Regions from separate parts of the Homo sapiens genome. Here all the other regions are linked to region 2. Evidence: promoter capture Hi-C in 16 types of primary human blood cells and fetal thymus (Javierre and others, 2016). All regions are on one chromosome and are shown on one strand. The core of a region is centred on a gene start or on the middle of the fragment in contact, and the rest is flanking DNA. Distances in the headings are between cores, read along the strand shown.

What was found. Contacts are between HindIII fragments. The CHiCAGO score rates a contact against its expected background, and 5 or more counts as called.
Region 1: a contact is called between a fragment that was not itself captured here and the fragment with the promoter of HMMR-AS1 in region 2, in 1 of 17 cell types (total CD4 T cells). The highest score is 5.8, in total CD4 T cells.
Region 3: a fragment that was not itself captured here is called in contact with the fragment with the promoter of HMMR-AS1 in region 2 in 2 of 17 cell types (naive CD8 T cells and non-activated CD4 T cells); the score reaches 8.4 in naive CD8 T cells.
Region 4: a fragment that was not itself captured here is called in contact with the fragment with the promoter of HMMR-AS1 in region 2 in 1 of 17 cell types (total CD4 T cells); the score reaches 5.5 in total CD4 T cells.
Region 5: a contact is called between a fragment that was not itself captured here and the fragment with the promoter of HMMR-AS1 in region 2, in 2 of 17 cell types (activated CD4 T cells and naive CD8 T cells). The highest score is 9.6, in activated CD4 T cells.
Region 6: a fragment that was not itself captured here is called in contact with the fragment with the promoter of HMMR-AS1 in region 2 in 8 of 17 cell types (non-activated CD4 T cells, M0 macrophages, activated CD4 T cells and 5 more); the score reaches 11.5 in non-activated CD4 T cells.
Region 7: a contact is called between a fragment that was not itself captured here and the fragment with the promoter of HMMR-AS1 in region 2, in 10 of 17 cell types (naive CD8 T cells, non-activated CD4 T cells, total CD8 T cells and 7 more). The highest score is 25.3, in naive CD8 T cells.

What each region holds. Positions count from the first base shown.
Region 1 is chr5:160,409,543-160,413,401 of GRCh38, forward strand. SLU7 (spliceosome associated SLU7) reads right to left here. Exons shown (of 16, transcript NM_006425.5): 6 at 2,909-2,977. Among named protein-coding and RNA genes, the nearest start is that of SLU7, 7.6 kb to the right of the region's middle. The HindIII fragment of the contact is 2,367 bases long and covers 1,257-3,623 here.
Region 2 is chr5:163,492,793-163,496,590 of GRCh38, forward strand. It overlaps HMMR-AS1 (HMMR antisense RNA 1), which reads right to left and starts at 1,266. Exons shown (of 4, transcript NR_109892.1): 1 at 907-1,266; 2 at 651-757. The HindIII fragment of the contact is 5,178 bases long and covers 1-3,169 here.
Region 3 is chr5:160,390,059-160,394,109 of GRCh38, forward strand. FAM200C (family with sequence similarity 200 member C) reads right to left here. Exons shown (of 2, transcript NM_022090.5): 2 at 3,090-4,051. The coding sequence ends at 3,648. Among named protein-coding and RNA genes, the nearest start is that of FAM200C, 8.0 kb to the right of the region's middle. The HindIII fragment of the contact is 4,404 bases long and covers 1-3,894 here.
Region 4 is chr5:160,056,210-160,060,398 of GRCh38, forward strand. All of the region lies in intron 7 of TTC1 (tetratricopeptide repeat domain 1), which reads left to right. It also overlaps a transcript of PWWP2A not described here. Among named protein-coding and RNA genes, the nearest start is that of TTC1, 49 kb to the left of the region's middle. The HindIII fragment of the contact is 5,431 bases long and covers 1-4,189 here.
Region 5 is chr5:160,451,832-160,455,503 of GRCh38, forward strand. No RefSeq gene overlaps it. Among named protein-coding and RNA genes, the nearest start is that of MIR3142HG, 15 kb to the right of the region's middle. The HindIII fragment of the contact is 7,393 bases long and covers 1-3,672 here.
Region 6 is chr5:160,476,313-160,480,324 of GRCh38, forward strand. The region is part of intron 1 of MIR3142HG (MIR3142 host gene); the gene reads left to right. Among named protein-coding and RNA genes, the nearest start is that of MIR3142, 3.9 kb to the left of the region's middle. RefSeq lists enhancers at 1,177-1,725, 1,310-1,604. The HindIII fragment of the contact is 574 bases long and covers 1,292-1,865 here.
Region 7 is chr5:160,428,391-160,432,067 of GRCh38, forward strand. PTTG1 (PTTG1 regulator of sister chromatid separation, securin) reads left to right here. Exons shown (of 6, transcript NM_004219.4): 6 at 212-349. The coding sequence ends at 291. Among named protein-coding and RNA genes, the nearest start is that of PTTG1, 8.4 kb to the left of the region's middle. The HindIII fragment of the contact is 153 bases long and covers 1,895-2,047 here.

The DNA.
Region 1 (3,859 bases), core at 1,190-3,689, 3.1 Mb before region 2:
ATTTTAGAAATACAAACTCACTGAAATACACTTCTAGAAGGTTATCCTAGTATCATGTCAATTATATAAAGATGTATAAGAATGTGATGTGCAGTGTTGTATATGTGCAATGTTTTTTCAAAACACTGGGAAAAAATCAAATTAATAGATCACTGGTTATATAATGTATTGCACTCCATGGAACACTGAACGGCCATTAAAAGTGATTCTATCCAAGGGGCAGAAAAGTATGTATCGTTTCCTAACTTTTTTGATTAAAAAAAGGGGAGGGGAGAGACAGATAGGATAAGGGTATATATTTGTATTTGTATTTATTCAAGACAGTCTGAAAGGAGCCACACACATACACAAAAGAGTTGGGGCGAGGGGAAGTTTAGTGTTAGGGTGGATAGAAACAGGGGTGGAGAGACTTCGCTGTGCATCTTCTTAAATTGTTTTAATTTTTGAGCCATGTGAATTCATACAAAAATAAATGATGCTATAGGTCTATAAATATAGACAGAAAACACGTTCCCACTGTACTCTATGTTGTTAAATTAAAAAAGAAGGTAATAAATGAATATATAAAGATGGATTCATGTAAGAAACATTTTGTATTCTAGCACACATGAACAGGTATATGTGGACAAGAGAGACCTGGAAAGGCCTACTTCAAAATGTTCACAATTAACACAGGGATATTTTCTTTTTTATATTATGTTCTAATTTTTTTCCACTTAATATGTGTTACTTTCAAAATTAGAAATATAAATATTTTGTAAAAAATAATTTTTTTGAGTTCCCACTATTTGCTAGTTCACCAAAGACATTTACATACATTTCTATAGTGACAGCTAAGTCTCTAAATCTACTGTATGTGGTTCATCTTAATATCCAAGCATCCTGGGAGCGGGGAGAGATAGCATTAGGAGATATACCTAATGCTAAATGACGAGTTCATGGGTGCAGCACACCAACATGGCACATGTATACATACGTAACAAACCTGCACGTTGTGCACATGTACCCTAAAACTTAAAGTATATAAAAAAAAAATAATCCAAGCATCCAAGTGGGCAAAAATCATTAGCCCCTTACATACATTAAGTATCCTTACTGGGGAAATAAATTACATTACGTTTACAACAAACAACAGAGAATACATTAGAACAAAAGAAACAGGCCCTTTTTCTTTTCCCAAAGTTAGTAATAAATAAAAATAATCACAACAATAATAGCTACTAATTACCCAGTGTTTACTATGTGATATGTATATAAGCTTCCTGGGGGTAGGTGTTATCATTTCTATTTCAGACATACTAAACTGCAGCTCAGAGAGGCAAATTCACTTTTTTTTTTTTTTGAGACGGAGTCTCACTCTGTCGCCCAGGCTGGAGTGCAGCGGCATGATCTTGGCTCACTGCAAGCTCTGCCTCCTGGGTTCACCCATTCTCCTGCCTCAGCCTCCCGAGTAGCTGGGACTACAGGCGCCCGCCACCGCGACTGGCTAATTTTTTGTATTTTTTAGTAGAGACGGGGTTTCACCGTGTTAGCCAGGATGGTCTCGATCTCCTGACCTTGGGATCCACCCGCCTTGGCCTCCCAAAGTGCTCGGATTATAGGCGTCAGCCACCGCGCCCGGCCGGCAAATTCACTTTTCTAAGAGCATGTATGTCTCATGGAGCAGAGATGGATTTTGTTATTGATTGACTGATTGACTGATTGATTGAGATAGAGTCTCGCTCTGTCATCCAAGCTAGAGCACAGTGACGTGATCTCGGCTCACTGCAACCTCTGCCTCCTGGGTTCAAGCGATTCTCCCGAGTAGCTGGGACTACAGGTGCTCGCCACCACACCCAGCTAATTTTTGTATTTTTAGTAAAGATGAGGTTTCACCATGTTAGCCAGGCTAGTCTCGAACTCCTGACCTCAGATGATCCACCTGCCTCGGCCTCCCAAAGTGCTGGGATTACAGGTGTGAGCCATTGTGCTCGGCCAGAGATGGATTTTAAACACCTATCTGGTAACTTACAATGTTAACTTGCCTGGTAGGTTACCTTAGTAACTCGGTAACTGCTTACTTGGTAATTATTTCAAGTTCTGTTTGCTTTGTTACTTATACATGGTTTAGAGTCCCTTTTAGAAATTTAAACTAAAAAACTATAAATGTTTACTATTTATTTGTGCCTAGATTTGTTAAAAAGAAACTTGACAACTCTAATATGCATAATATATTTACTCTATTGACAAGGATTTTTAAAAAAGAAAAAAAAACTGGCTGCAATAGACCTTTCATTCATATAAAAAATGTTTTGCCCAGTTATATAACTAATACATATTCATTGTGGGAAATGCAGAAAATACTAAAGAAATAGAAAGAAAAATTCATAAATTCTACATTAAATAAAAACTAGTGTTCTGGTCTTTTTTTCTGTGTGATAATATTATACTATCTTTTCATGTATTATTCAAATACAAGTGTTAACCAGTGTTGTTAATGAAGTCTTGAGAAATGCCATTTTAAGAACTACACAGCATTACACCATGCAGATGCACTTAACCAATTCCCTGTTCCTGGACATTTAAGCTATTCCAATTTCTTTACTATTGTGAAAAATGCTGTACTATCTTTATGCATCATGATTTTTCTAAACTCTAGAAAATTCTTTAGGATGGATAGCTTTAATAATTTAACTTGAAAAAGTAAATGTTTGTGTGTGTCTAAATATAAATAGTGGCAATATTGTTCCCAAACTGACTGCATCAATTTATATTACTATGAACTGTATACAAAGTATCAGTTTTATTTTTCCCCCAATAGCATTTCTCTCTTCCTAACTGAAGAGCTATAAAATGAATTCTTGTTTCAATTTTCATTTCTTTGTTTAAAAGAAATAAAACCTTTTTATTGATCATTTTCATTACTTACAGCCTGTTCCACTAATTTTCCTGAGGCTAATTCCTCTTGGAGTTTCTGGGCTTTCAATGTTCGTTTTGCCTTTAAAAAAAAAAAAAAGAAAGAAAGAAAGAAAAAGTAAACATTTAAATTTTACTTACAACATTCAAGTCACCACCTAAATTTTTATATATTTAAAATGAATAACTTTAAATTAATTTATTTCAGAAAAGGTCACTGAACAAACCTATCTCTTTGGGATTCCTTGTAGCCCTAGACCTATTACTCTATAAAGAGCAGGAGTTACACAGTGTTTGAACCAGGCATTAATGTAAACTGAGCCAAATGGCATCAGTAGTAAATTGCAGGGAGCAAGCCCTGACAAAAACAAGCAGTTGCCACAGAACTCTAGATGACTGACTCTTACCAGGCAGGCGTGGGGTTACCATATATTACAATATTCAAGAAAAGATGAAATCCAGATTTTTATATGAAATCTTATAATTTTAAAATGATACCTCTAATTAAAAAAAAAAGGCAGTGTGACTATGACTTCAAAGGAATAAGGGTGAATAGGTCAAATCATAACAGTAAAAACTGAAGTTGGGTTAAAATAAAATAAAATTTTCTGAAACAAATTATCCATTCCCTTTCTACTACTCCCAAATGCTATGGGAGGCAACTATAAAATAGGTTCATGGGCAAGCTATAGCTTGGGGCCATACATTTCTAACCTCACAAAACCAAAAGCTTTGGACACTAATCTGTCTTCATGCTTCCAATATCTTTTGCTACCTAAGTCAGGGAGTAAAGGACCAATATAAGAATCAAATAAGAAGAAACTGCTGGCAAGTATGGCTAGCACACTATTTCCTTTACTCAATATTACAATTATAAAGGTAGCCTATACAGTAGTACTACTATTATAAAAATGCTACCATTTTTAAAGTGCTTCAAGATTTGAAAAGTAGAGCTGCTAGAGAT
Region 2 (3,798 bases), core at 16-2,515:
TTCTTTGATGATGTACTCCTGCTGTCCACACCCAGCATTATGGCTTGTGGGTCAGATAACACCCAGCTCATGATGGGCAGCTCAGGTCGCATGGTAACTTAATTGACCACGGTAAGCATTCAGTCCCTACTGAAGCCCAGCAGTAGGCCCAGAGCTGTTTCTCAAAAGAGTAGTTATCTGCATAGGATAACAGGTCTTTCTTCAAAATACTAAGGGTCTGCACTGAGATTCATCTATGTGGGCCTGCCAAAGGTTCCAACAGCATCTCTATCTGCCACTGACACTTCAAATACCACTGGATCTGCAAGTTCATATGTCCCAAGCAACAAAGCCGCTTACACAATAGCCTGGACCTATTGCAGAACCTTTCCTATTCTGAGTCCTACTCCAAACTAGCAGCTTTTCAAGTCACTCAGTAAATGGGCCAGAGTAACAAACTCAAATGAGGAAACGTCTTCAAAATCCAAAGAGGCCTGCCGCATGTCATGCCTCTTCTGGTTGTAGGAGGGGGCAGATGCAAAAACTTACCTTAGAAGGGGTATCTCAACATGCCTCATACCACTGGACCCCTAGAAATTTTACTGAGACATGAAAAAGCCTTTGAATTTTTGTTGGATTTACTTCCCACTTCTGACATGCAAATGTCTTACCAATAGGTCTGGAGTAGTTGCTATGTCTCACTCATTAGGTCCAGTGAGCATAATGTCGTCAATGTAATGGACCAATGTGATGTGGAAAGAAAAGGCAATCAAGATTCCTGTGAACAAAATTAGGACAGGGCTGGTGAGTTGATATGCCCTGAGGTAGGACATGAAGGTGCATTTCTAGCCTTGCTAGCTAAAAGCAAACTGCTTCTGGTCGGCCTTATAGACAGGGATGGAGAGAAAGGCATTTGCCAGATCATACCAGGTAGCTGCATACCAGGAACCAGGAGTTGTGTTAATTTGCTCAAGCAATACATCTGGTACTGTAGCTGCAATTGGAGTCACCACCTAGTTAAGTTTGTGATAATCCATCTGTCTTCTGCCCAGGCTAAATAGGCGAGTTGAATGGACATATGGTAGGAATCACCACCCCGCCTTCCTTCAAGTACTTATGGTGGCACTAATCTCTTCAGTCCCTATAGGAATTGAGCATTGCTTTTGGTTTACTATTTTCCTAAGTACAGATAGTTCTAGTGGCTTCTACTTGGCCTTTTCCACCATAATAGCCCTCACTCCATAGGTAAGGAAACCAATGTGTGGATTATTCTGTCAGCTGCTGACTGTATTCTAATTATACATTCTAGAACTAGGGGATAACCACAGGATAGGTTCAGGAATTCACTGGGCCCATTGTGAGATGGAACTAAGCTAAAACTCTGCTGATCACCTGACCTCCATAAGCTGCTACCCTGACAGTAGCACTTTGGATCTCCTGAAATTAGTGTCACTTCAGAGAGCCAGTGTCCACTAGTTCACAAAAGATCTGATTATTCCCTTTTTCTAATGCACAGTTACGTTGGTAAAGGTTGTACATCCCTTTGCGGAGGACTAGGAGAAAGACTAACAGTATAAACATTTGGTTATGGACCAGGGTCCCTTTGAGGTCCTCCCCTTCAATCAAAGGGTTTTGGGCTCTATAAAGTGGCTCAAGTTTGGGAATTAAGGGACCACGATTCTGTTTTTATGATTCGAGTTCAACTTTCGTCACTTGACTTAGAAGTTTTCTGCTTATACAGATCAAGTTAAGACTTCAGTAGGCTTCCTATCTATTTCACGTCTAGGAAAACCATGATCAACTAGCCAAAGCATAGGTCTACAAGTGAGATTATTCTAATTGTTCCTTTGGCTCTGTCATTATGATAACCACTTCACCTTGCCTTTGGTGGTTGAGTCCCATTACTTGACCCTTGCCACCCTGGGATCCTTTACTTCCATTATATTTAGGTTTTCCAGTTCAGTGACTGCAGTGAGCTCTGGCCTACAGAGAAGAGCCATCACAGAGTTCTGAAAAAGATGCTGGAGCTCTCCTCGCAAATTTCTTTCTCATAGTATTGGTGAAAGGTATGCTTTCTTGACCTTCCCAGTGTGGATGAGTAGTTCTTTTTTTTTTTTTTTTTTTGAGACGGAGTCTCGCTCTGTCGCCCAGGCCGGACTGCGGACTGCAGTGGCGCAATCTCTGCTCACTGCAAGCTCCGCTTCCCGGGTTCACGCCATTCTCCTGCCTCAGCCTCCCGAGTAGCTGGGACTACAGGCGCCCGCCACCGCGCCCGGCTAATTTTTTGTATTTTTAGTAGAGACGGGGTTTCACCTTGTTAGCCAGGATGGTCTCGATCTCCTGACCTCATGATCCACCCGAGATGAGTAGTTCTTAAGTGAAAAATCTAATTTCCCAATATTCCTAAACCTTTTAATCCCATCCTCTAGATTAAACCAAGGCATGTCCAGCACTTCCAATTCATCTTTTCCATGTTTTAGTAAGCCAATCAAACTGTGAGCACCCTTTCTAACTCCCCAAGCTGCAATGTTAAATGCAGAATCTTGGCTTAGTGAGCCCATGTCAATAAATTTGACCTGATCCAACTTTATGTTCCTTCCATCATTTTCCAACACCTTTATTATCCATTCCGACATATGTTCCCAGATTTTTGTCTGTATAAATTAGAGACTTTGAGTAACTCTTTGGAGTATAGCACATCTCTTCATAGGTAACACTTTGTTCCTGTCTAGTTTCAGGTCTAGAAGCAAAGAAGGGTGGTGGAGTTGGGTCTGGAGGAGAACCAACATTGTCTTGCATATCAACTGCCTCAAAGGAGGCCATTACAATTTCCTCAGGCAATGCAGTGTTAATCATCACAGACAGGTTGGAGGGTACTATCACTGGAAATGGAGAAGCTGCTTCCAATGGGGTTGAGAAGCCTCTCCACTAGCAAAGAAGACTCATCAGAATTTAGGGGCTTAATGTCCCCAGCTTCATCAAGGTCTTCCCATATGTCCCAATCCTAATTTACAGAATCCCATTTTTTTTTCAGTAAGTGCCCTCCTTTTGACAATAGTCACTCTGCAAGGCTGGAATTCTAATTTGTGTTGTAATTCAGCCAGTCACAGGATGAGATGCTGTGTTTGATTTTCAACAGTCTCAGCTCTGGGGCTACAGGAGATAGGGTTTTCTTCAGGGTGCACATAGAAGCTTTCAGATTATTTATGGAGCACTTGAGCTGGGAATAAAAATCCCTACACTCACTTTTGCACCACTTTATCCAGTGACATTAGAAACAACCAACTGTCCTCATTATACTCATTATGAGGCAGAATAGGTAGTCAAGGAAGTAAACATGCCCTTGGTATGCAGCAACTGTGGCTTACTGCACCACATACTTTAACAAAATAAGCCCCAGCATTCACATTGTAGTCAAGCTAATTCAAGCAAAGCTATCTTCAGTAGGAAATTTCCCTGTATATAGCATATACATTTTGATTTTACCTATCCTCAGCCTGACCCTTTGTTCATTATAATAGTAAAAAACCCACTGCTGGGTGGAGATTTAAGATGCTAATGAGACATGCGATATATGAACAAGCATGTACAGCTACTGCTCTTGTGCACCCAGAGGACCACCCAGAACATGCTTACTAGTAACACCTCTTCCCACCCCCTTATGATTAATCATGTAAGACTCCCAGAAAGGGAGTCTCCCTAGTGCCAGTCTTTATGATCTCATCCTTACCAGCAGCCTGTACTGAATCCTCTCTCTAAGGATGTACTATCTATTGTGCACTTAACTTTCAAAATATTCTTTTTCCTTTGCAATGAATT
Region 3 (4,051 bases), core at 443-2,942, 3.1 Mb before region 2:
GAGTAGCTGGGACTACAGGCATGTGCTACCATGCCCAGCTAATTTTATTTTTTGTAGAGACGGGGTCTTGATATGTTGCTCACGCTAGTCTTGAACTCCTGGCCTCAACAGCCCTCCTGCCTCAGCTTCCCAAAGTGCTGGGATTACAGGTGTGAGCGACTGCACCCGGCCGCAGAGTCTATTTTTAAAAATTGAGGCTGGGCGCAGTGGCTCATGCTTGTAATCCCAGCACTTTGGGAGGCCAAGGCAGGTGGATCACTTGAGGTTAGGAGTTTGAGACCAGCCTGGCCAATATGGTGAAACCCTATCTCTACTAAAAATACAAAAATTAGCTGGACGCAGTGGTGGGCATCTGTAATCCCAGCTACTTGGGAGGCTGAGACAGGAGAATCTCTTGAACCCGGGAGTGGAGGTTGCAGTGAGCCGAGATCACGATCACACCACTGCACTCCAGCCTGGGTGACAGAATGAAACTCCGTCTCAAAAAAAAAAAAAAAAAAAAAATTGAGATATAATTCAAGTATCATCAAGTTCACTCTTTAAAAGTATAAGTTAGCCGGGTGCGGGGGCACATGCCTGTAACCCCAGCACTTTGGGAGGTCGAGGCGGGTGGATCACGAGGTCAGATCGAGACCATCCTGGCTAACATGGTGAAACCCCCTCTCTACTAAAAATACAAAAAAATTAGCTGGGCGTGGTGGCGGGTGCCTGTAGTCCCAGCTACTCAGGAGGCTGAGGCAGGAGAATGGCATGAACCCAGGAGGCGGAGCTTGCAGCGAGCCAAGACGGCGCCACTGAACTCCGGCCTGGGCGACAGAGCAAGACTCTGCTTCAAAAAAAAAAAAAAAAAAAAAAAAAGTGTAAGTCTATTTGGTTTTGCTTCCCATTGGCTCATGCCTGAAAATGCTGACCTATTATTTACTAACTTTCAGCAGTTTTTGGTGGCTTAGACAAACAGTGAGGATGTCAAAAATGCACACGCTTGTATTACAGAAAAAGTCATTGATATTTTCTTTCCCACCTGGGTTTCCCAGTGATTTCTTGCAGTCTCATGGTTACCGGCTCCAACAGAGTTCTGCCTGCCAGTTTTCAGTCCACAGAGGCTCAGGTAAGGAATTTTAAATTTGAGCCACTAGTACCTTTTCTAGAGATGTTTAAAATCAGCTATTTGGCAAAATCTGTAATGTGAGTAAAGTTGCTTTCTCATTCAAACCTATACAGAGAGTGACATCTGCTGGTCATGAAGATTATGTTTTTATTCTATTTTACTCCTTTTCAAAATTTATCAATGACTCTAAAATAAAACATAAGAAAAGTAATTATCTCTTCTTTGGGAAAAAAGAAACCAACACATGACTAAAAATTCCAATATATGTACCACTGTGGGACATTTTTAAACTAAAAAAAATTGAAATTCCTTCATTTTAGCAAACACTGCAGCTCTTTCATTTGATCAGGAGAAAATAAAATTGTTGTAGAATTTGAAAATGAATAAAAATCCTAGTTAGCCATTTCCTTAAAAATGTCCTTTGAGTTTTTGTTTCAGAGCAGCAATAACTAATTTAGTCTAAGACCTAATGAAAGACTGGCTATCAAAGGTCATTTAATCCTGGTCCTTCTATCATACTATTAAATCCTAGGTTTCATACATGCCCATGTCCCTATTCCTACCTCCTTCCTAACTTTAGAATTGCATACAGATTAAACTTTATATACACACATCTAGATTTTTTTTTTTTTTTTGAGATGGAGTCTCACTCTGTCACCTAGGCTGGGGTGCAGTGGCACAATCTCAGCTCACTGCAACCTGTGTCTCCTGGGTTCAAGCAATTCTTCCGTCTCAGCCTCCTGAGTAGCTGGGATTATAGGCGCATGTCACCATGCCTGGCTAATTTTTGTATTTTTAGTAGAGGTGGGGTTTCACCATTTTAGCCAGGCTGATTTCGAACTCCTGACCTAGTGATCCGCCCACCTTGGCCTCCCAAAGTGCTGGGATTACAGGCATGAGCCACCGCACCTGGCCTACACATCTAGATTTCCATATTAGCTTTGGAAATTTTTCTGTCTTTGATGTTAGATTGTAATAGGAAAATTAGGACCTATATTCTGTTACTACATTTTTCAGTGAAAAAAGGTGTGTATTTATACTTACTGATAAAATATAAACTTTGATTTGCGTACTAATGTGGCATCTAAATTTGGTAGTCAGGTTCCATTTCCCTTCAGGTTTATTTTTTATTTTTCAGTATTATAAAAGTGTTCTGATTAGCCACCTTATAAGTAAAACTTTTGGACATTCCTGATTCTTTCCACATGATAAATTTATAGAGGAAAAATTCTTAATCAAAGGGCTATAAATAACCAACAAAGAGACTAACATTAGTGTAATAATAATAAAAAATTGAGAGTAGTAGGAGATGGATATTTTATAAATTCAATCCTTACATATTATCTAGGGGAGTCAATATATAACTTTTAAAGCTGATTCAACTGCTATATGTCATGGTATGAACATACTACTTAAGAGATGTGGGTGGAACCACAAGAAATTACAGAAGAAATGGGTAATTGGGCAGGAAGGGGATTGTGGCTTTTCCTTATAGGACTCTCTATATCATTTTTTCCCAGCCTTGAGCATGTAGTACTTTGATAAAATATTAATGTTTAAAAATAGAAATGAAAATTTATTTAAATTAAAAAATATTTTGCCAAATTATCATCCAGAAAAAGTGTGCTAAGTTAGATTCCCATGGGGAATTTTTTGATGGTCTTGAATTACTCCATTGATTTCATGTCAATTTATTTATGATTTATACTCTGACATTTTGAACTTAGAAAAATACATATAAGATGTAATATAAGTGACAAAATTAGGGTAAAGGAAAAATAAGTATAGGAAAAATTGAACCCAGAGGACCCAAGAATCCAAGAATCCATCAGAACAGTCTGGAAAGCTGGTTATGAATGAGGATCCTTGACCTTATCACAGGCCTACTAATCACAATCTCTAGGGTAAGGCTCAGGAATCTCCTTTTCAGCAGCCTTGATAACTTGGAGTTCTGAAGTAATTTAAAGATGACAAACAGTGATTAATATATTAGGCTATTTATTAATATGATATTCATAGCACAGGAGCTAGGGGAATGGACATTGTGAGACTAACTCCAAAGAGTATATTTAAAAGTAAGTCTTACATAAGCCAGATCATTCCTTTTCCCATTATATTTCATAATCCTCTTCTGATTTCATTAACCTCTCCATAACAAAGACGGGCGAACTCAATCTTTCATTTTGCCTTTTTGACTTCTGGGATATCTTCTCTTTTCTCCTGGCTCAATTCCTAGCCTATTGCACCATTTAGCTGGATATTCTAGTGCTTAGGTATCTTTTTCATATACCACACGAACAGGTTAAACAGATACTTAGAATTGGGAAAATCTCATGATAGCAACTAGGCAGTAGTACTTAATCTTTTCTGCTGTGTTTTTATTCTCAAAACATATTTTCACATGCCTCATTCAAAATTAAAGTTCTTAAGTTTTTTAGACATAGAATTCAGTATATCATAAATATGAAAGAGACAGAATTACAGCTTAATTTTACAATGATATTAAGATTGAAATTATTCATTAAAAAAGTATATCAGCTTACAGTGACTTCTGCTGTAGCTGTAGCTTTTGTTCAATGATGTCCGAGAAACGAGGAACTTTTTTTGAAATAGCCACACGGATATCATCACTCAGATTAAAGCAGCTTCTGGACTTTGTTTTGAAATGTAAAAGTGATGAAAATCCCAACTCACAAAGGTATGTAGTTGCAAATGGCATAAGGATTTCTAGAGCTGTCTTTGCCAGGTTTGGAAATGCTGTGAATTGGGCACACCAGAAATCCTCAAGCTTCATTGTCTCAAATTCCATTAGGATTTGGCCACTAGCTCGTAATTCAGCAAGATCATTTTTCATTAAATAACTATCATCAACAAAATCGATATTAAAAAGAAATGGATCCAATATCCATTTACTTGCCTCATTAAGATCTCCAATGGAAAAAT
Region 4 (4,189 bases), core at 1,255-3,754, 3.4 Mb before region 2:
TTTCACCAGCACCTGCTGCTGCTCCCTGCCCTGGCCACTCTGGCACACATGTGGGCCTTGTTCATAATCCAACCCAGGTTTTCCACTCATACCTTCACTTTCTAGGAACATATTCCTGGTGTCCTGATTCTTAAAGTCACTCAGTTGTTCACTCCTGGCCACTAGCAATCTGATGAGGGCACATTGTGAGCTGAATTAAGAATACCATCTGGAGCTTGGCATGGTGGTCATGCCTATAATCCTGGCACATTGGGAGGCCTATGTAAGAAGATCACTTGAGCCTGGGAGGTCAAGACTGCAGTTGAAGAGTTCAAGACCAGCCTAGGCAGCATAGCAAGACCCTGTCTCTACAAAAAAATAAAAAATTAGCCCGGCATGTGGCATGTGCCTGTAGTCTCAGCCACTTGGGAGGCTAAGGTGGGAGGATTGCTTGAGCCCAGGAGATCAAAGCTGCAGTGAGCTGTGATGGCACCACTTCATGCCAGTCTGGGCAACAGAGTGAAACCCTGTCTCAAAAGCAAAATATATATATATATCATCTTGTATGAGTGCCATATTAAAGAGCTATATATGGAGATAGAATTAACATGTCATTGCCAAGTTCAGCATATTCTTCTGGCTATACCTGGACATTGTGTGCTTTTCTGCTTTGCAAGTAGTAGAAGGTCCTAGAATCAGCTTCCTCACTGAGGCTTACAAGAAAGATTGACTTGTTACCACCCCTCTTAAAGCTGCTGAAGCCATACATGTAGGTACAGAAACCCAGTCTTTTTTTTTTTCCACATTTCTCTTCATACTATTCTGCCTGATATCTGTCATTACAGACTGTACACTTGCAGGATTTTGCACTCTGGCCACATGGCACAAGAAACCAATTCCTTGTTGTGGTTGGTTGTTCCCTCAGTAGAGAATATCAGTAGCTTTTCAGTGCTTTGCTTTTGTCTTCATTTCCTAATTGCTATCCTGAGGCTTCTCTTAGGAGAATAGTTCCCACTTCTTTGAAAGTTCTTGGTAAGGCTTCTTTCAGCCCTCGAATTTACCCAAGGTCAAATACAGGCGTACCTCAGAGATGTTGCAGGTTCAGTTCCAGACCAGCACAATAAAGCGAGTCACAAGAATTTTTTGTTTCCCAGTGCATACAGAAGTTATGTTTATATAATACTGTAGTCTACTAAGTATGCAACAGCACTGTGTCTAAAAAAAAAAAATGTACATACCTTAATTTTAAAATACATTATTAAAAAATGCTGACGATGAGCCCAGCCTTTAGGGAGTTGTAATCATTTTGCTGCTGGAGGGCCTTGCCTCCACGTGGATGGTTGCTGACTGATCAGGTTGGTAGTTGCTAAACATTGGGGTGTCTGTGGCAGTATCTTTAAATAAGATAGCAAGGAAGTTTGCCACATCAGTTGATTTTTCCTTTCATGAAAGATTTCTCAGTAGCATGCAGTGCTGTTTGATAGCATTTTACCCACAATAGTTCTTCCAGTATTGGACTCAGTCCTCTCAAACCCTGCTGCTGCTTTATCAGCTAAGGTTATGTAATATTTGGGGGTTTGTGCGTGTGTGTGTGTGTGTGACACAGAGCCTCATTCTGTCGCCAGGCTGGAGTGCAGTGGCACAATCTTGGCTCACTGCAACCCCGCCTCCTGGGTTCAAACAATTCTTCTGCCTCAGCCTCCCAAGTAGCTGGGATTACAGGTGTATGCCACCACACCCAGCTAATTTTTCTATTTTTGTAGAGATGGGTTTTCACCATGTTGGCCAGGCTGGTCTCGAACTCCTGAACTCAGGTGATTGGCCTGCCTCAGCCTCCCAAAGTGCTGGGATTATAGGCGTGAGCCACTGTGCCCGGCCAGTTTATGTAATATTCTAAATCCTTTGTTGTCACTTCAACAATGTTCACAACATCTTCACCAGGAGGAGATTCCATCTCAAGAAACCACTTTTTTTGCTCATCCACAGCAAGCAACTCCTCATTCGAGTTGTATCATGAAATTGTAGCAATTTAGTCACATCTTCAAGCGCCACTCGAATTCTAGTTACCTTGTTATTGTCACCACATCTGCAGCAACTTCCTCCACTGAAGTCTTCACCCCCTCAAAGTCATCCATGAGGGTTGAAATCAACTTCTTTTAAACTCCTGTTAATGTTGGTATTTTGACCATCTCAGCAGCCATAGCCATATGAAGTGTATTTCTTTTTTTTTTTTTTTTTTTGAGACGGAGTCTCGCTGTGTCGCCCAGGCTGGAGTGCAGTGGTGCGATCTCGGCTCAGTGCAAGCTCCGCCTCCTGGGTTCACGCCATTCTCCTGCCTCAGCCTCCTGAGTAGCTGGGACTACAGGTGCCCACCACCAAGCCCGGCTAATTTTTTGTATTTTTTAGTAGAGACAGGGTTTCACCGTGGTAGCCAGGATGGTCTTGATCTCCTGACCTCGTGATCCACCCACCTCAGCCTCCCAAAGTGCTGGGATTACAGGCGTGAGCCACCGCGCCTGGCCAATGAAGTGTATTTCTTAAATAATAAGACTATAAAGTCAAAATTACTCCTTGATCTGTGGGCTGTAAAATGGATGTTGTGTTAGGAGGTTTGAAAACAACTTTAATCTCCTTGTTCATCTCAGAGCTCCTCAGTGACCAGGCACATTGTCAGTGAGCAGCAATTTTTTGAAAGGAATCTTCTTTTCTGAACAGTAGGTCTCAACAATAGGCTTAAAATGCTCAGTAAATTATTCTATAAATAGATGTGCTGTCATCCAGGCTATGTTGTTCCATTTCTAGAGCACAGGCAGAGTAGATTTAGCATCATTCTTAAGGGCCCTAAGATTTTTGGAATGGTAAATGAGCACTGGCCTCAACTTAAAGTCACCAGCTGTATTATCGCCTAACAAGAGAGTCAGCCTATCCTTTGAAGCCAGGCATTGAATTATTCTTTCCTGTTGCTTTGAAAGTCCTATACGGCATCTTCTTTCAATATAGTGCTGTTTTCATCTACACTAAAAACATGCTTAGTGTAGCCACCTTCATCAGTGATCTTAGCTAGATCTTCTGAATAACTTTTTGCAGCTTCTATGTCAGCCTTTGCTGCTTCACTTTGCACGTTTATGTTATGGAGATGGCTTCTTTCCTTAAAGCAGTTTCCTCACTCAACCTTGGTAGGATTGAAGAAAGTTAGGGCCTTGCTGTGGTAATCCAAGGCTTTGGCTTAAGGGAATGTTGTGGCTGGTTTGATCTTCTATCCAGACACCTAGAACTTTCTCCATATAAGCAATAAGGCTGTTTTGCTTTCTTATTCATGTGTTCATTGAAGTAGCACTTTTAATTTTGTTAAAGTCTGGCTCTTCCCTTTACTTGAACACTTAAAGGTCATTACAGGATTATTAATTGACCTAATTTCAATATTGTTGTGGCTTAGGGAAGAGGGAAGCCTGAGGAGAGGGAGAGATACAAGGGAATGGCTGGTCAGAGGAGCAGTCAGAACATGCACCGCACTTACCATTTCAGTTAGCTGTCTTATGCGGGTGCAGTTCATGGCACCCCAAAATAATTAAATAGTAACCTCACAGATCATTGATTACAGATCACCATAACAGGTATAAGAATAGTGAAAAGGTTTGAAATATTATGAGAATTACCAAAATATGAAAGAGACATGAAATGAGCACGTGCTATTGGAAAAATTGTGCTGACAAACTTGCTCAATGCAGGATTACCACACATCTTCAATTTGTAAAAAACACAATATCTGTAAAGCACAAAAAGCACAGCACAACAAAATAAAGTCTGCCTGTATAAGAATTTCAACTGGGCATGAATTTTATCCTTTCTATGCTGGGCTCTCTTGATTTGCCTTTTGCTCGGAGAAAAGCTAGAGTTAGCTGCATGCCTTAGTTTCCTGCCTCACAGGAGGAAATGTGGTATTAGGATTTAGTTGTATGCAATTTGTTTCATCTGAACAGAGGAGAAAGTCCCAAAGGAGCCATTCCATCGAATCCATGCCCGAGTGATCTTAAGGAGATGAAAACACAGCATTCCTGGTTATGCTCAGGGTAAACTGCCTGATGCACAGTCAGTATCTCCAAAGAGAAATTATGTATAACAAATCAATTGGGTTATGGTGATATGCTACTTGGCAGAGAAATTAATATTTATCAACTGAACCCAGTGGCAAGCACTCGGATCCCTGTCT
Region 5 (3,672 bases), core at 43-2,542, 3.0 Mb before region 2:
AGCCTGGGCAACATAGTGAGACACTCTCTTGTATATATATGTGGGGGCGGGCGAAGGGGTGGGGGGAGAGAGAGAGAGAGAGAGAGAGAGAGATGCAAGAATAAGAACTTCTGAATACTTTTAAACCAGATTCACCAACTGTAAACATTTTGCCACATTTGCTTCTCTCTGTCTCATTACACACACACACACACACACACACACACACACACACCATATACATTTTTGTAAACTATCTGAAAGTAGTTTGCACATATCAAGCCCTTTTATTCCTAAATCCTCTAGTATATATTTCCTGAGGATAAGGCTAAGGCTATTCTCTTACACAATCAAAATATGGTGATCAAATTCAGGAAATTTAACAATACTATTGTCTAATCTTCAGTCTGATATCACCAGTTACCCTGATAATGTCCTTTAGATAGCCCAGGGCCCTATCTAGAGAGGAGGGAGACTGAAACTCCCTGAAAACAGCTGAATCACAGAGACTCAAGGCAGACACTCAAGGGCAAGGACCTCCTGCTACTTTTCCTTGGGGCCTCCTTGGATTGAGGGCCAGCATCTCCAAGACTGACCTCTGGGATGTTTCTGTTCCTACTGATGCCCCACTGAGGGTCTTGGGTTCCCCTATATATACGCCTTATTACTTCCATAGCACATTCTCCCCCATCTCCATTGCTTAAGGCAAGCCCACAAGTCTTTATTATTTGCAACTGAGAGTAGGAAAGGAAAGAGAAAATAAATGGAGAGGAAGAGAGTGGGATAAGTAAGTAGTGAAACAGCAAACCAAGCTATTTTGCCCTTATAAACCTAGAAATTGCTAGATGACCTTGGACAAGTTACATAACATTTACAAGCATCAGAACCAACATCAAAATTAAACTGGCTCTTACTGTGTCCTAAGGGTGAGACAAGGGTTTTAAGAACTGAAACTTGGGAGCTATTATGATTGGCAAATGGAAGGATGGGAAAAGTCTACAGATAAGGTTCTGTACTTAAGAATGACCCACTTTGTCATACACGTATATCTACTTTCATATGGATATTTGCACAAGGGTTTCTTTTTTTTTCTTTTTTTAAGAGGGGGTGAAAGAAGGAACTCAGTGCACATGACATTGGTGGGGCTGAAATAAAAAACCTCGATTTAGAAATCTGATACAAAAGCAAAGTCATCGTTTTCAAATCAAAACTTGGCTCTGCTTCATTGGCTTGCCTCGTGCTTCTGCACAGGCTTTCGGGGGAGGCTTCCAGGCACATGTGCCTAGAGGCCATCCTTCTAAGTGTGCACACTGGAGCTGTAAGGGCAAGGGTGGCTGCTACCTCACATTGGCACTGAGAAATATCCGGAGAGTGACTCCTTGGCATGAAATTCAAACACCTTATGTGGTGATCTGGTCCCACTTCAGCCCACTCCTCATCTCCCATCCTCCATCCAGCCAAATTCTACCTCTGTAGCTCCTCCACCTCTCAAGGGCCATCATACTTGCTGTTTTCTCTGCTTGAAAAAACATTCTTTCCGGTCTTTGCCTTCTTAAATCCTACTTCCGTTTCTGTGCTCAGCTTTGAAATAACTTCCTATGTTTCCAAGGAAACCCAAACTTGGGGTAGGTGCTCCTACTTGAAATCCCAGTATCCCATGAATTCTCCTGTCTGAGCATGACTGTGATTGTCCATTCACCTGCCTGGACTCCCAAGTCGATTTTATGGTCTGTGAGATCAAGGACTGTGTTTTCTTCACTGCTGTATTTCTGGCTTATAACACAGCAGTTGATACACAATAGGTGCTCAATAAATATTTATTGCATGAATGAAAGAGAAGCAGGCTCAGGGCTTCTGACAGGTTGCAAATTAAAAATAAAAGAGTAAACTGTGTTTGGTAACATGACACAAACCCACTTGTACCCCCATTTCCACCTCCACCTGTCAGGGAAAACTCAGATTTATTGCATTAACTGGAAGTCTGGAGTTGGTCTTTAACTTATTCCTTACCTTCTCTAGCTAAACATCCAACTGGTCACCAAACCCTAGATAGTCCACATCTTAGGGTAACTTAGGTTCTTTCTCATTTCCATTCTCACTTTTGTTGCCCTCCTCACTTCCTTGTTGGGTCAAGAAATTCCATTGTTCCTCAACCTTCAGCATCTACTTTGTTCTAAAAGCTCCTCATCACAGGATTTAAAACTTTACCAAGATTACCCCACTGGTCTCCCATGATGGAGGTACCCATTCCGGGTTCTTGGCCATTCCTTTGACATATTTACTGCTGCATTCTCTTAATTCATGTTGCTTCCTTAGCAAGGAAGTCCTGTTTTCCCTTCTTTCCGCCCCCCTGCTCCCCCTGCCTATTGAAGTTTTACTTATCTTTCAAGGCTTAGCTCAGACTCCTCTTCTAAGCATTTTAATTCTCCGAATCTAATTTGTTCCTGTGTTCAGATAGCATGTTTAGATAGGGAGGAATGGTGAGTTATCAAAAACGAAGAGGTTCCTGATTTTGAGAAAGCAAGTAGAGTTCAAATAGAGGACAATACCTGTCATAACGTTGGCTCACACTTGTCATACTTGTTCCCATTTACTAAGAACCAGGGATGAGCATTTCACCTGCTTTATCTCTTTTATTCTTCATAATAGCTCTATGGGGGTGGGAAGAGGGGGCTCTTTGAATACCCTTATTCTGAGGATAAAGAAACAGAGGTGCTGGGCATGGTGGCTCATGAGCAGCACTTTGGAAGGCCGAGGCAGGTGGATCGAAGTCAGCAGTTCGAGACCAGCCTGACCAATAGGGAGAGACCCCGTTTCTACTGAAAATACAAAATTAGCCGGGCGTAGTATCAGACGCCTGTAATCCCAGCTACTTGGGAGGCTGAGGCAGGAGAATTGCTTGAACCCTGGAGGAAGAGGTTGAGCCGAGATCGTGCCATTGCACTTCAGCCTGGACAACAAGAGCGAAACTGTCTCAAAAAAAAAAAAAAAAAAAAAGGAAAAAACAAAACAAACAACAACAACAACAAAAAAAACAGGTGATCTGATTTTCCCACAGTCACCCTGTAAGGAAGTGGTGGATCCTTGGTACACCTTAAATCTACTCTGCTTCCCTCCAGAGTTGGAGATGGTAACTTCTGTGCCCTCCTAAAGGAAGGGGCCAGGTCTCTGGCATGGCTAGTGTATGTAGCATGTCATTTTGCACATAATAAATGCTCCATCGGTGTTTTAAATAAATGCATACTTTCTAATTGGTATTGACAGAGTATCATCTTTCATTATCTTCTATTATTAATATTGATAACAATATGGTACATAAATGTGGCCCTTTTGTTTATTTAAATAGAAATTCTACACATGAATGATGAGAAAAATTAAACAGTACAAGAGTGTATAGAATGAAAAGAAAGTTTCATTCCCTTTTAGTCAAGCCGCCTAATCTAAGCCCCAGGGGCAACTGCTGGAAAGAGTTTCTTGTTTATCCTTCCAGAAAAATTTCATGTATAAATCAGCATACGTGAATATAGATTACTTTGAAAAAAAACCCAAATGAAAGCCTACTATACATTGCTCTGAATCTTGCTTTTTTTCATTTAGAAATGATTTCTGGAGAATGTTTCATTTTTGTGCATACAGATCTGTCACATTCACTTTAGTATTGTACAGAATGGATATGCTGTGATTGATTTAATG
Region 6 (4,012 bases), core at 329-2,828, 3.0 Mb before region 2:
GACCAGGGACAGGTGGGGGCTGGGGGCAGCAAGGGGACCAATGGCTTACTATTCAGATCGTCACCACCCTGATGTCCAGCTTTCCATGCAATGCAGTGACTGGGAGCTTGTGGGAGGTCATCTGAAAGATACTGTGGTCTTCCGAAACAGAATATGTCAGTCAGGCAGAGGATGGGAAGATGACTGAGGACGGGAGGGGAACTTTCAGAGGGCAGAGAGAAGGAGTGGTTAATCATAATAAAAACATAGAATTTGTTATTATAAAATAATTACTCAAGAAGTGTTTTCTAATTGTCTACCATGTACCATGCACTGCTGTTGTGGGACGGGGTAAAAAGAGGCGGAAAATGTGATATCTACCTTTGAGAATTTCACAGTCTCACAGGACTTGCACCTATGGGTGCAAGACCCTGCAGGATCACATGTTAAATTGCGTGATTGGATGACAGATGTGTGGGATGATTTTTTACCCTCCTCCCAGCTGTTTTCCACACCCAACCAAAATATCTAAAAAATACAGCCTGGATCACATTCCTTCTGTGTTTCCTCTGTCTTTAGTTAAGGTCAACTCCATATTTCTCAGCAAGGCCAACATGAATCGGCTCTTGCCTTTCTGGACCTTCCTCTCCTCATGCCATCCCTAGTCTCGTTATTGACCTCAGTAGAGGAGTCTCTCTCCGTCCTCACAAGTGTGCCTGGTCACATCCTATTTGTGACCATTTGGACATTCTGTTCCCTGTGCCTGGAACTCCCTTTTACCTGGTCTTTGCCAGACCATGCTCTACTTATTCTTCAGGGTTTCTCCTTAAATGTCATTTCTTTCCAACTACCAGGTGCTTCATAGAATCTTGAGCTTTTCCACTGGTCGCATTTATCACATTTGGGCTCACTTATCTGTGTGATTATCAGTGAGATTTCAGTCTCTCCTGTTTTGTGATCTCCATGGACCATGCTGGTCTTGTCTGTGCTGCAACCCCAGGATCTAGCACAGGCCCGACACATGCAGCAGGTGCTCTGTAAGTCAGTGATGGGTGAATGGATGAGCAAGGAGAGGTTCCACTGGGTCAGTGCAGTTGTCCTTTCGAAGCACTTTGTTGCTCCTCCTGGAGCCCTTGGTGTGTTGAACTTAGCATCCTGTTTGTCTACCCTCACATCCTCATGAGCTTCCAGAGGGCAGGGATTGAATCATCATCATCTTTTCATCTGGTTCACATAGGAACTCAGTGCAGGTTGTAGGATGAAGGAAAGAATAAACTGTGTACGAATGGAGCGGGCCTTATCTGGGTTTTAAAGCTTGCCTGGGGAGGAAGGTGGAGAAAAAGTGAATTCAAGGATCCAAAATAGCAGTGGGAGCCAGGATGCAAAACAAGAGTAGGGTTTTGTTTTGTTTTAAAGCTGAAAATCTGCATTAGAAAAATACCGGATAGTCACCAGACACAGCATGACAGGATGTACTCATGCTACAAAGATGGGAGGGTTGAGTGGGGGGAGGCTTGGAATTTCCCCAGCTGAACTTTATACCTTGAACAATGTCCATCTTTCAGAGCTTGCTGCTCTCCTCAGGAGTTTTATCCATTCAACACATTTTTATCAAGCACCTATTCCATGGGGAAGATATGCCTCCCCTCAAAGAGCACGAAAATTGGCCCTTAGGAGGTGAAAAAAAACTCTATGTGTAAAGCACAAATATACATACAGTATATATAGACATATAATATATCTGTAGTGTTAACATTTCATAGTGGGGGGATTAGAAAAAAAAAAGTCTGAAAAGGTTCCTTAGAAGGATGATAATGAAAAAAAGATTGAGAAACTGACCTACTCTGTGCCAGGCATTCTTCTGGTTAAAGGGCCTACTCCCATGAAGCTTTCACTCTTACCAGGCAGAAAGACAGTAAACAAATAAGTAACTGTAAACTAATAATAAATTGTATGAGGCAGAAAAGCAGGCAAGGGGCTGGAACGTTTGGGGGATGGGTGGGGCATGTCTGTGTTTCCTTTAGGTAGAGTGGGTGAGGGATGGACTCTGATGAGGTGAGGTTTGAGAAGAGTCTGGAAGAAGTGACAGGTGAACAGTAGAAATATTTTGGGAAAGAGCATTCCAGGAAAAGGTAACAGCTTGGTGCAATTAAGAACAGCAAGGAGGCCAGGTGGGCAGGAGTGGATGGATGAGGGAAGGATGGTAGAAAATGCGATTGGAGGTAGAGGCAGGGGCCAGATGACATGGGCCTTGTAGGCCATGCTGAGGGGTTTGGGTTTTGTTCTCTGTGTGATGTAAAGTTGCTGGAGAGCTTTATGCAGGGGAGTGACATGATTTGATTTATCTCTCCTTTTTTTTTTTTGAGACAGAGTCTTGCTCTGTCTCCCAGGCTGGAGTGCAATGGCATGATCTCGGCTCACTGCAACCTCCGCCTCCCAGGATCAAGCAATTCTTCCTGCCTCAGCCTCCCGAGTAGCTGGGATTATAGGCACCCTCCATCATGCCCAGCTAATTTTTGTATTTTTGTAGAGACAGGGTTTCACCATGTTGGCCAGGCTGGTCTTGAACTCCTGACTTCAGATGATCTGCCTGACTGGGTTTCCCAGAGTGCTGGGATTACAGGCGTGAGCCACTGTGCCTGGCCTCTTTTTTTTTTTTTTAAATACTTTAAGTTCTGGGATACACGTACAGATGGTGCAGGTTTGTTACATAGGTATGCATGTGCCATGGTGGTTTGCTGCACCCAGTAATCTGTCGTCTAGGTTTTAAGCCCCACATGCATGAGGTATTTGTCCTAATGCTCTCCCTCCCCTTCCCCCCACCCTCTGACAGGCCCCAGTATGTGATGTTCCCCTCCCTGTGTCCATGTGTTCTCATTGTTCAACTCCTACTTCTGAGTTATCTTTTAATAAGATCCCTCTGACTGCTATTTGGAGGGTGGACTGCAGAGGCAGGAGTGGAATCAGGAGACCTCACTGTTGCAGATCTCCTAGGTGGGAGCTGATGGTGGCTTGGGTGAGGGTAAACAGTTAGATTCTACGTGTACTGTGAAGGCAGAGCTTGCAGGACCTACAGAGGGATCGAATGAAAGTTCTCCTTTCTACCAGCTGCTGGCCTCTCTTGTGAAGGCCAGGCTGAGTACATGTTTATCTAGCATTCTGCAGTTACTTATTTTTCATCTGTATACCTTGCCACCTTATCTAGTCTTTGAATTCCTTTAGGGAAGAAACCATTTTTGTTTATGTCTCCAAGAGCCAGACAGTGGGGCCGAATGGTCAAAAGTGTTAGTTGTATGTGCTAGGTGGATGTTTTAACTGCTTAGCTACTGCTCTTCCTCCTCCTTCTCTTCTTTTTGCTTCTCCTCATCTTTTTTAATCGAGTGAGGATGGCAATGGCATTTCTTTATGGCTTTTGAGAGTGAAGTGAGATTTGTGTGAAAGTGCCTTGTTGGCTGGTTGTGGTGTCTCACGCCTGTAATACCAGCACTTTGGGAGGCCGAGGTGGGTGGATTGCTTGAATCCAGGAATTTGAGACCAGCCTGGGCAACAGAGCAAAACCACCTAAGTTGGAGCACTTTTCCCCTTCCATGTCTGGTTTTCCTTCATGTGAAAGGGAAGGCAACGCTTACTTTAAAAAGTGGAAACTCTCAAATAATTTACATTGTATTCTAAGTGGTAAAAGGCCACATTGAGGGTGATGGAGAAGCCATTACATGTCACTTGAGGGAAGTGAGTGTCTCTAGTGAATCATTATGAGTAAACGGATTTGGTGCTGCAGCATGAGCAATACAAAACGTTTATATAGTAATCACCAAATTGTGTGGATCCAACCAGAATAAAAAAATGCCTGAGCTTTGGCTTAGGGCCATGGCTGAACGGGAGCATGAAGCCTGGCACAGAACAGAAGGAATGAAAGGCATGGATGTAGCACAGCGATAGACATAAATAGATGCAAGTTTAAGCAGAGATGAAAATGCGTGGCTGCCGCTTTTTCCCTCTGCACTCACGGCAGGCTCAGAGCTGGAATTAGAAC
Region 7 (3,677 bases), core at 721-3,220, 3.1 Mb before region 2:
AGAGATTCAGATACTTCTAAAACTTACTTCCTAATGAAAGTCAATTCTGGGGCCACAGACACATTCCAAAAAATGTGTCAGGAGGGGATGCAGGTGATTGATTTGACAAAGGGAAAAACATGAATTTTTGATTGACAGCTAATGTCTATGTTGATATGGACAATGACTCAAGGATTTGCAGAAATTTTAATAAGAGATTCCTGTTTTCTAGATCTGTTGCAGTCTCCTTCAAGCATTCTGTCGACCCTGGATGTTGAATTGCCACCTGTTTGCTGTGACATAGATATTTAAATTTCTTAGTGCTTCAGAGTTTGTGTGTATTTGTATTAATAAAGCATTCTTTAACAGATTCTTCCTAGTATTGTGGTTGCTTTTCCATGGAGGTTACTTAAAATAACATGAAAGCTAGCTGAGGTGTTTAACAAAGAGTCTATAATGTGACAATAGAGATTTGTCTGATGTCTAAAAACTTAAATCTTTTTGGTTTAACAGCTTATTTTAGAAGCTGCCACTGTTTTTTCCTGAAAAGTATACCCCTCAATGTGTACTTTATTGACTTTTTGTGGCCATTAACTAGTGACAGTTATTAGATCTCTTAATTAGAAGAGCTACTTCCAACTCATTAAGTATCTATTGCTGGGCATTCTTTATTGCCGGTTCTACTTAGTTTCTAATGACTTTAATACTCAGTATTGAAAGGCTCTAAATCTGAGAATTCAGCCTCCTTGGGATCTTCAATTAGATTCCTTAAAGATCACTGGAGATAATTTACTGATAGTAAGGTCTACACTCCACCTATAGGAAACTGTATTTAGTTGTTTACCTTGTGTTGGACATGAGTATTTGAGAAGCATTATTATGTTTAATGTTTGACACTTTCCCAGGTAAGACAATGAAGCGCAGAAGTTCATTGATTTGTCAAAGATGTGAAGAGCTAGAAAATTATTAGAGCTGGTATTTTGATCTCAGTTCTGAGGTTGGAATCAAAATAGAGATGGCAAATGGTTGCTCATAGGTTTTCTTTTTGAGGGAGGGGGTGGATATTTTAAAAACCTTAATCATTTCCACTATTTAAAATTCCAGTGTTTCACCAATCTGGCTTTGGAGATTCTCTTGAAAAGAGATGTGTCCATAGTAGACCCTGTTTCCAACACTTGCTGGGGCTGGAGGTAGATTGCAGGCTGCTGCCTTTTAGGTGGAGTATAGGCTTTCTATCCCACAGACCCTGCCTTAAATGGCCTCAGTGAGAACTGAAGTGATCCTTTTACCTTTCATGTCTCTTCTGAGACCTAGCCTACTTAACTCACTTTACTCGCTTGGGCCATGTAGTAACCTGAATTTGACCCTTGCTTGATGCTAAGTTATATAAGAAGTCTTTCCCTTGATATATCAGTAGCTTCTATGGTCAAGTTAGAATGTGAACACTTTGCCATTGTCATTGGAGGAAGCTGAAGGATATTAGGCATGAAATACTAAGAACACCTACAACCGCTTATCCTGACTTTAAAACTTTTTACCTTCTAAATACAACTGAATCAGTGTGACTTTCTGGAATTAGTGGAAAGGCAGACTTCTAGGAGAAGATAATACCATAAGACTACTAGGGCACTTGGCTTTAGGGGAGAGTAATAGGTTTAGCATCCTCAGGTAAAATAGGGCTGCTAAGAAAACCAAAGTATAGGTTGGACACAGTGGCTCACACCAGTAATCCCAGCACTTGAGAGTTTGAGGTGGGAGGACTGCTTGATCCCAGGAGCTTGGGTTCAACCTGGGCCATGTAGTGAGACCCTTGTCTCTCAAAAATTAAAAATAATTAGCCGGGTGTGGTGGCGCATGCCTGTAGTCCTAGTTTCAGGAGGTTGAGGCAGGAGGATTGCTTGAGCCCAGGAGTTCAAGCTTACAACTTGAGTGGCTATAGTCATGCCACTGGGTGGTAAAGTGGGTGGTAGAGTAGCCTGGGTGGTAGAGTGAGATGCTGTCTCACAAAAACAACAAAAAAAGCAAAGTGTAGTTCTGAATGGCTTTCATACTCTGCAACACAAACTGAAGCTTTGGAAAATTGTCTTTTGTGGTAGAGGGAACCAAGGGCTGGGAGCAAGGGGACTAGTCAGTCCCTTACCAGTTAATTGCCGTCCTCTGGGTCAGAACTGAGTATAGAGGGATCTGATCTTTTCATCTGCTGTTAATCAGATTGCAATGTGCATAATGTGTGCTGAGACTGAGAACTTTAAGCAGATGCTCCTCCATTAATACAGATAATTTGCATCTTGTGGGGGTTGTTGCTATTTTGTTCTGACACTTTTTGAAATAAGACAGACTTTATTCATACCTTTACAACTCTGTAAACCTTCTGCATTTCTCTACACTACCTCTGAGCCTGCCTCTCAGGATACTGTACCTTCTTATAGTAGGAGCTAACAGTCAGGAATGCCATTATCTTGCTACCATTTCTTCTTTCTTATTACAAGTTGTATTTTTCTACTTTCCATGCCAGCCATGGATTTTACCTTTTTTCATGCTGGGTATTTTTACATTTCTATTAATATTCTTAAACTTTGTTCTAGAGTATGGGTAAGGTACCTAGAAGCAATTTGATTCATTTGAGACTTGCCTTTAATGTTAGGCATCACCAGAGCAGCATTTAGCCCAGGGCTCATTTCCCCCTACTACTGAAGTGTGAGATGCTTAGGACTCTGCTGCCCCCTGAATTATGAGGTTTTCCTGTCTAGCTGGTGGGAGCAGACACTATTCCCAGCCCTGTGTGGGCTTCAGGAATTCTTCCCTCTGATCTTTTCAGCTATATGGATCAGTGCTCTTCTGAATACTACAGGGAGACCCTCTGCAAATTTCCAGGGTTCTCTCTGTGCAGCTCTCTCCTCTCCAGTGCTCTGCTCTGCAAACTTGGCCTGCCTTGGCCTGACTCTGCTCTGTCTCTTCAACTCAGGAAATTCACTGGGCTCTGCCTGCCTCCCTTTCTTCCCCACTCTGAGGCCTGGAAACTCAAAAGTAGCCAGTAAGGATAGTCATCGGCCTCACCTCACTTATTTCACATTCCTCAGGCATCGCTGTTCTCTGTCGCCTGATGTTCACTCTTTGGGCAGCCCTCATTTCATATATTTTGTCTTGTTTTTTAGTTTCAGGCAGGAGAGTAAATCTGGTCCCTGTTACTCCATCTTGATTGGAATTGAAAGTTCCTTCTAGATATTCCTTTCATTTTTTTTCTTTTTTGAGACGGAGTCTTGCTCTGTCGCCCAGGCTGGAGTGCAGTGGTGCAATCTTGGCTCACTGCAAACTCCACCTCCCGGGTTCATGCCATTCTCCTGCCTCAGCCTCCCGAGTAGCTGGGACTACAGGCGCCCACCACCACGCCCAGCTAATTTTTTTTTTTTTTGTATTTTTAGTAGAGACAGGGTTTCACCGTGTTCGCCAGGATGGTCTCGATCTCCTGACCTCGTGATCTGCCGGCCTTGGCCTCCCAAAGTGCTTGGATTACAGGCGTGAGCCACCATGCCCGGCCTTTTTTTTTTTTTTGAGGTAACATTCACATAAGAAAATTCATTTAAAAATGTACAATTCAGTGGCTTTTAGTTCAGAGTATATGCAACTATCACCACTGTCTAATTTCAGAACACTTTCATCACCCCCAAAAATAAACCCATGCTCATCAAGCACTCATT